Regions from separate parts of the Homo sapiens genome. Here regions 1 and 3 are each linked to region 2. Evidence: promoter capture Hi-C in 16 types of primary human blood cells and fetal thymus (Javierre and others, 2016). All regions are on one chromosome and are shown on one strand. The core of a region is centred on a gene start or on the middle of the fragment in contact, and the rest is flanking DNA. Distances in the headings are between cores, read along the strand shown.

Region 1 (2,700 bases), core at 181-2,680, 290 kb after region 2:
CCTCCCTCTCCTCTTCCCCCTTCCCCTCCTCTTCTTCATTTCCTCTTCCTCCCCCTCCTCCTCCTACTCCTCCTCCACATCCTCCCCTCCAGTCCTCCTCCACCTCAAGTCCCCCGACCTTCTCCCACTGCTTGATCCTTCTTCAAAACGCAAATCACATTGGCCAGATTCATGCATGTATCACCCAGCAGTTAGCGATGAGCACTCATGAGCTCTGGGCTACAGGTGTCAGGAGAGACCGAGACAAGAGAAGACACACAGTAAGAAGAGTCCGCTTTCCCTGGTTTTAAGGTTTAGATTGCAAAAGTCAGATTTACTCCCAGCCAGTAACTTGAAAATATTTCCCCAGCCACCTACTACGGGATGCAGCAGAGGAGAAAATGGCACTACCATCCACCCCTCCGGGGAGGACAGGCAAAGGGAGCCACGGCCAGTGGGTGTCATGGTGGGCCGGACAGGCAGCTCTTTTGGGGGGTCTCTGTGGCAGCCAAGGTATGTGACAGAGGAGGAATCAGAGCCCGCCTGGCCCCCCAGGAAGGCTGCTCACCTGAAGGCAGACACTGTGGACAATCCACCGACAATCGTTCACTATGAATGGGTTTCTCCTGCCTCCGAATGTCTGGGACATCCCGGCATGACTCTGTGTGCATTCAGGGCTGGGGAATTAACTTCAGCCAAAGACAAACAACAACCGAGGGTCAGGGACACCTGAAATTCTTACAGGAGATTCTCAGCACATGGCAAGGTTAGTCCCAATGGGATTTGCTTTCATTTCCTGCTAATGAGATTAAGAGGCGTGGGGACAGAAGTTCCTGTCCACACCATCCTTTATTACGCATTGGCCCTGTCTTTCCTTCCACGGGATCCCACGGGATGGGTTCTCTTACAGAACAACTTTTCCCCTCTCCACAGCCGTGCCCACGTCATTCTGCAGAAGGGCTGAGCCTTATCTAAAGCAAAGGGAGCTGCAAAGATGAGGGGTCCAGTAGGAGCAGCAGCTGAGGAGAGACCTCCCCCTCCACCAGCCTGGGGCTGTAGCCAGGCCACACCATCCAGGTGGGGGACCAGGAAGCCAGGATCCTGCGTGCTGTCCTGCATCTGGGTTTCCCAATGTGGCTTCACAATGCTATTTGAACTGTGTTCATTTCCAAACCTAGGACGCCCGCATTTGCAGATGGACAAAAATGCCACACTTGGGAGTCAGTCGTGGGTTCCACCGGTTCCCCGCACCTGCTGCCTTGGTCTCAGTTCCTCTGCAGGACAATTGAGAAGCCCGTGGGTGGGTGACCTCATGTTGCCATGAAAGACACCACTCCCTGGATTGTTACCATCCGAGAAGGTGCTGGAAGAGCTGACCAGATTCCAAGCAGCAACCAACCCAGAGGTCCTCGCACACCAGCCCGATGCTGGTCCGAGGCCCCACGCTCAGCCTCCCTCCAGCCAGACACACGGGTGTCCGGGAGGTTGATCCTCAGCCAGGGCTGACACCATTAGGGCCATGGAAATGTCATGATTTCTTTTAAAATGAGAAGATAAAATGAACTTTAAGGGCCAACGATGCTTTTGTCTTTGTATCCACACTGTGGCAAAATCTACTTTTCACTATTTTTTGATGGCAGGAGATGGCCCACACAGGGCCCATGACAGGATGCAGCCATGGGCTTCACGAAGGCAGGAAAAGGCAGATCCCAGTCACTCGCTCACCGCCGCCTGCTATCCAGCCCACGGCCCACCACACAAGGAGAGCGAGGAGGGGCTCCAACCACACCAGCTCTGCCACCCCTGGACAGCCTGGGGGCATCTGCTCTGAGCTGTCTCACTGCGCCCAGTGCAGCTGGTGGGCATCCGGTGGCACTGTGCCACTCTCCAAGCACACGAGCAACGGGCAACTCTGGGTGGGGAGGGGCTGCCCATCAGCCGGGGTTGACCTGTGGCACCGGGTGCCAACACCATCTTCCCACCTCCCCAGGCACGGCGCCACCTCCACATCTGTACCCAAAGGCACCGGAGTTTCTACCACAGTCTGCCCCCACTCCCCGGGGAGGGGCTGATGGGGGCTCACCAGAGGGGTTGCCCTGGACCCTGACCGTGACCCTTGCCGTGACTGCTGGGGGCAAAGGACACGCGTTTCGGAGGGTTTGCTGTTTTCACCCCCAGAACTCAAATGGCCTTAGCAAGACAGGGCTTGTCTGGGGATCCCCTCGAACACCAGGCATACACAAGGCGCCTCCTCCCAGGCCTTTCCCTTCCTGCCACCCCAAACTCTGGGTGTGTGTTCTGGGGCATGGTTGGTGTTGCTCTGGTTAGCGTTGAAAGCCGCTCCCCTGCCACCACCATCTTGGTCAGTTCTGCCCGCAATGGCCTTGGGAGCCCACGTGTGTCTCCAGGTGATTCTTCACTGCTGTTGCCTCCCCTCTCCCTAGAGGGCCTTTCAGGTCCTGCAGCTCCTGGTGCCACCCCAGCTCAGGCTCTCTCTGCAGCCTCGGGAAAGATCATCTGCCCGCCCTGATGGATGGAGATTTGGTCAAACATCTGAGTGTCTATCCCCTGGCCTTGTCCCTCCTGTCCCCTCTTTCCCTCTCAAAGAAGCTCCCACGGAGAGAGAATTCCAGCTACGTCGGTGCAGAGTGGCCTTGGCTGAGGGTGAGCACTGGGCTGCAGGTGCACATTTCTCCTCTAAGCCCCACCAGACGCCCTTCG
Region 2 (2,704 bases), core at 132-2,631:
GAAAGTTTATCTATTTTTATTGCTAAGCTGCAGGTGAGGGCTTGGGAACACCTGGTTACATGCACCCCAGATCAAGACTGTCCACGTCCGGTGCACCCCTGAACACAGCAGGAGGGAACTTGGGGATCCACTGCCCTCGCTCACTGTAAGCTTCCCAGGACTGAAGCCCCAAAGAGGAGCCCTCTGCCTTCTCTGTCCTCCCCATGGGTCAGCGTGTCCTGCTTCTGAGTGGCCCGTCCTTCCTGCCTAACTGGCTGGCCTGCACCATGGCCCATATTCAACAACCTTAGTCATAGTTCCCACCATTGGCGTTTATGGAAGCTTGGAGCCTCATAAAGTTCAAAGTCTGCAACAATAATAAAGGCCCAGTCAACTTGGCTTGGGCGGCAGCTGCAGCCCAGCACTGGAAGCTCCTAGCTGTGGAGGGGCGTTGGGGCCTGGAGGGAGGAGAGCCTTGGTTTGCCCTGTGGGGCCCAGCCTTGAGTTCTGGCTTCTCAGGGCTCTGTTCTATCATGTTTCCTGTGAACTCCTTTTGTGCCTAAGACGCTGGGCAGTGCCACTCTTGCAGAGGTGCCACTCCAGGCCCTGCACGCTTAGGGGTAGAGCAACTACTACTGTTGGGCACAGGCGTGGGGCTGTAGAAAGAAATCCGTGTTTCACTGGAAAACTATGCATCCTACATAGGACACCAGCTTCCACATGGCCCGATACTAACCTACTAACCTTTCATCTTTTTTTTTTTTTTTTTGAGACGGAGTCTCCCTCTGTCGCCCAGGCTGGAGTGCAATGGCACCGTCTCGGCTCATTGCAGCCTCTGCCTCCCGGGTTCCAGCGATTCTCCAGTCTCAGCCTCTCAGGTAGCTGGGATTACAGGCATGCACCACCACGCCCGGCTAATTTTTGTATTTTAAGTAGAGACGGGGTTTCACCATGTTGGCCAGGGTAGTCTCGAACTCCTGACTTCAGGTGATCCGCCCGCCTCGGCCTCCCAAAGTGCTGGAATCGCAGACGTGAGTCACCGCGCCCGGTCTGAAAATTATCTTTTAATAGGGGTTAGCTGCATGAGTTAAAATCTCATTGCCACCATTTGCTGACTTTGTGCCCTCTGGGAGATTGCTTAATCTCTCTGGGATAAACCTCGGTTTGCTTGACAAAGGAAGCTGGTGAGGCTAAAGAGAGAACTCTAAGATTGGGGCGTTCCGAAGCCTTCTAGAGCCTTCTAGCACCCTGGACTCATAGCCAATGATGGGCAACAACAAGAACGACGACGAACCCTGGGCTCGGAACTCGCCCAGGCCCCGCCCCTCACAGCCCCGCCCCGTCCTCGGCCCCGCCCCCGGCCTGTCGCCTCAACAAAGTCCCCGCCGCGCGGCCGCTGGCCGGGAGTCAGCTCGGAGTCCCGTCCCAGCGCGGCGTCAGCGCTGCGCACTTCCCATTGGCCGAGCGCGGCGCGGGGGCGGGCCCGGGCCTGCGATTGCCTCTCGGCGTGCGCGGACAGTGTCATGGAGGCCGCGGCGGTGACGGTCACCCGGTCGGCTACACGGCGGCGGCGGCGGCAGCTGCAGGGGCTGGCGGCCCCGGAGGCGGGGACGCAGGAGGAGCAGGAGGATCAGGAGCCGCGGCCGCGGCGGCGGCGGCCGGGAAGGAGGTGGGGCTGCGGGGCCCGCGTGAACCCCGATCCGCGGGGCTGAGAGTCCGTGGCCCCGGGGCCCGAGGTTTCCCGGCACGGGCGCGCCGAGGGGCGGGGGGCCGGCGCCTGTGTCCGCTCCGTGCACAGTAAGGGACAGAGGGTGGCAGCGCCCCTCCGCCCCGGTCCGCCCCGCCGTCCTCGCGCCACTGCCGGGCAGCGGCCTCCGGCCCCCGTGCGTGACCCCTGCCTATCTCAGAAATACGGGTGCAAACCCGAGTGGCCGCGGGGCCCAGCGGGAATCCCGACGCCCCGGCCAGACCCCTGCTTCCCACGTCGCTGGTCTATGCGGAAGATCCCGGCGGCGGTGCTCATGCCTGGCTCAGTGGATGCCGGCTGGTGGAAGGGGTGGCCTTCTGTAGGGGTGACACTAGAACTGAGTCTTTGGGGAGGAGGAAGCCTTCAGTAGGTGGAGAATAGGGAGTAGGGTATCCAACTGGCGGGGAACAGAAAGGGCCAAAGCACAGAGACAGAAAGGGACGAACATGCCCCTCTGGGCTGGGCTTCCTTCCTTTGGGGGGCACTTGCCCACCCGGTAAACTCCCCCTCAGTAGGTTGCAGGGGGAGAAGTTAGGAGCACAGACATGGCTTCCGGAAACAGCAGCCGTAGCTTTGTTTCTAAACCCAAAGCAGTGAGACTGCTGAGCATTTCAGACCTCATGAAGATGGGATGAAGGCTGGCTGCTGGGAAAGATATTTTTGGACAGGAGGAATGTGGAGATGGCTCTTTCCCTCCTAGTGGAGGAATGACAGGTGACAAAGGTGACCTGGTGTGGGATTGTTCTGAGAAGGTCTGGGAGGGGGTGGCTGAAGTATAATAAGGACATCAACGAGGAAGGGGGCTTTGGAAAAGGAAGGTGGAGAGGAACAACTGCGGCATCTCTGCTTGAATCCGTCCCCGACCCCTGCAGTTCTCAGGGTCTCCCAATGTCATTCTGGAGGCCCTGGGTCAGTGTTTGGTGATGGCAGATGCTACAGAGGACTCTTTGCAACAGGCCTCTGAATGGCAGTGGAGTG
Region 3 (2,713 bases), core at 154-2,653, 340 kb after region 2:
CACAGGTCTGTTCCCCAGGGCAGCCTCCCCAGCTCATCGCCACGGTCCACATGCGGACAAAGACTCACACCAATCCCAGGGCCACCAGGCTGCAATTTCATCACGGGGTTCTGAGTCTGGGGAGTTCAAGTGACTTCTGAGACCACTTGGGGGTGCAATCTGCCCGGTGCCACCTACGAGGACCGCCTTTGCCGAGGTACCTGGGCCGAGGCCCAGCAATACCTGGTAGAATCTTTGTATTCGTTTAAGCCCAGATGAGTTCCAAAGAGCCAGTCCCTGGCACACAGACTCTCACCTTTAGGAGGCTGCCCATGGCTGGACCCTGAGTGATCCCCACATGAAGTGTGGGGCTAAATACTCCAAGGTCCATTTTTTGATCCTGGGGGTCAGAGTACCTCCCCTCCCCCACCCAGGGAGAAGGGGGCACTGTGCACCCCTGAGGCCGACCCTAGCGGCTGTGGAAGAGCTAAGGAAACTTGGAAGCCCTGGACATCTCGGCTCTTGTATTTCAGCACGGCAGACGCAGATGGAGGAGAGAGAAACTCCCTCCTCTGGTGGTGTGTGCATGCAGGCAGCCCCAAGCTTTCCAAAGCCACTCTGCCGGCTCCTGGGGCCACCAGGGCGGGCAGCTAGATGGCCAAGTGGCAGGACAGTCACACAATTGCATGCGGCTCAGTTACGATGGGCACACAGGGAGCAGGTCCTCGGAGGGAGGGGCTGGGGCGGAGTCGGCTCCCTGCCTGACGTTTAGGTGAAACTCTTCTTTCATCTGGGCCCTGGGGGAGGCAGAGTCTGTGTGGGTCATAAGGAGGGGTCTCTGCAAATGGCAGCCTGCATGTGCTGGGGCTGTGGAGGAAGGGAGAGGGACTGCAGGGGTCTCTGAGCATGCCGCAGACCCCAGGGGAGCCCACACACTGGAGCAGGCCCCTCCCACCTCCTCACCTGCAGACGCCCCCAGACTCTGAGAGTCTCTGCTCCCCTCTCCACTGACATGGGCCCCAGAATTCCAGGAGGAGGCTGGAAAAGGCCATGCCTGCGCTGCCTCCTTCTGCCGCCGCCTCTTCCTCTCGCCTGCACTCCAGGGTCCATGTGGTGCAACGGAGTCCTTCCAGCACCCCCAGGCAGGGCAGGGCTGCCCACAGGTGCCCCCACAAGGCCAAGGGCTGCCACCTGCACGGACAGGTCTCAGCTCACCTGGGAGGGCCAAAGGACAGCTGGAATCCTCCCCGGGAGCAGCTGGAATCACCTGCAACCCTCGGTCAAGGAGTGGACCTGGGAGCAGTTACTGCACCCAGAGCTCCCTCCCTCTTCTGGTCTGAGGTGCTTTGGCCATGGCCCCTGCCAAACCAGCCCTTCCTGCTCTGCCCACCGCCAAGCCCAAAGCCTCCTCCCTAGCAGACCCGCCAGCTCTCCTGCTAGGCATAGTATAGGGCAAGGATAGCACCACAGTCCCCATTCTCACTGTCAGCCCCCACTATCCATCAAGGACGCCCAATGGTTCCAGGATCCAAGACAGCGACGTGGCCCAGCACTTCTGGTGTGGCCCCTGCGATGGCGTGACCAGAGAGAGCGAAGACACTTGCTCTCCCACGGGGGCCAGCAGGTGAACCCTGGGGCCAATCCCAGTAGCCTCCTGTGGGGAGAGAAGCTGCAGGAGAAGTGGAGGCCGGCCCTCCCCCGCACCCACCCCTCCAGGTTGGGATGGGGCTGCCACTCAGGCTTCAGCAGCCCCTTGGATCTATCTGCCTCGATTGCTGACCCCTTGGTACTGACAAGCGCAGCTGGCTGTTTTGTGACCTTTAGAATCTAAAGCAACACAAATAGAGCAGCCCCCTTGCCATGAAAGTCTGCAGGGCAAACTGTGGGCCCAGGGGATGTGCTGTTTTGGGGATGCGGCTCTCCCTCCTGCTGGCTGCACCTGGCTGGCAGGTTGGGCAGGACCCATGTTCCTTACCCGCATCCGAGGAATACCACAGTTGCCTGGTAAGCCCCAGGCCCCTTGGCATGGTTTGCAGCAGGGTTCGCATGGCAGGGAGTGGAAAGGCGGCCCCACCCTGTCCCTGCCGCTCTCCCCAGCTCTGCATAAGGGGCACATCTCTCCTGGCAGGGTGGAAGGGGCAGCCAGGTGTTCTGCCAGGATGGCAGGAAAGGGGAGAAGTGGCTGTGACTGTGCCTATGTCATCTGCACAGCCTGGGGGAGAGGAGAGAAGATAACAGAGGCAGAGAAGCTTCTCCTTGCTCCCCGTAAGAGTCTCTCAGCCCCTCAGCCTCTCCCAAAACCCCTGGTCAGAGGCAGAATACTCACTCCTGCTCAGGGGTGCCTCAGCTGAAGCTCTCAGGAAAGAAGGGGCCTGGCTCTGCAGTTCTTGAGGACATCAGAGAGGACACCCCTGGCCCTGTCACAATCCCTTCCAGAGAGCACCAGCGGCCTGGCTTGTCCCTGGATGTTGAAAAGTAGCTGTTCCCCACGGCCTTTCTTTCTCAGAGGAACATGCCCAACCAGGCAGGGAAGAGTCCTGACTACAAGCCAATGGGCTGCCCGACACCCATAAGGATGGCTGCTATCAAAAGCACAGAAAATAACAAGGCATTGGCGAGGGTGTGGGGAAGTTGCAACCCTCATGCATTGCTGGTGGGAATGGAAGATGGCGCCGCTGCTGCGGAAAAGGAAGGTTTGGCGGTTCCTTAAACAATCAGATGGAATTGCCATATG

Evidence for each region. Contacts are between HindIII fragments. The CHiCAGO score rates a contact against its expected background, and 5 or more counts as called.
Region 1: a contact is called between a fragment that was not itself captured here and the fragment with the promoter of ENGASE in region 2, in 2 of 17 cell types (total B cells and naive B cells). The highest score is 6.9, in total B cells.
Region 3: a fragment that was not itself captured here is called in contact with the fragment with the promoter of ENGASE in region 2 in 1 of 17 cell types (naive B cells); the score reaches 6.5 in naive B cells.

Annotation. Positions count from the first base shown.
Region 1 is chr17:79,367,293-79,369,992 of GRCh38, forward strand. The region is part of intron 2 of RBFOX3 (RNA binding fox-1 homolog 3); the gene reads right to left. Among named protein-coding and RNA genes, the nearest start is that of RBFOX3, 240 kb to the right of the region's middle. The HindIII fragment of the contact is 5,229 bases long and covers 1-2,700 here.
Region 2 is chr17:79,073,443-79,076,146 of GRCh38, forward strand. ENGASE (endo-beta-N-acetylglucosaminidase) reads left to right here and starts at 1,382. Exons shown (of 14, transcript NM_001042573.3): 1 at 1,382-1,648. The coding sequence starts at 1,503. RefSeq lists a silencer at 1,244-1,783. The HindIII fragment of the contact is 10,832 bases long and covers 320-2,704 here.
Region 3 is chr17:79,414,988-79,417,700 of GRCh38, forward strand. The region is part of intron 2 of RBFOX3 (RNA binding fox-1 homolog 3); the gene reads right to left. Among named protein-coding and RNA genes, the nearest start is that of RBFOX3, 190 kb to the right of the region's middle. The HindIII fragment of the contact is 1,646 bases long and covers 581-2,226 here.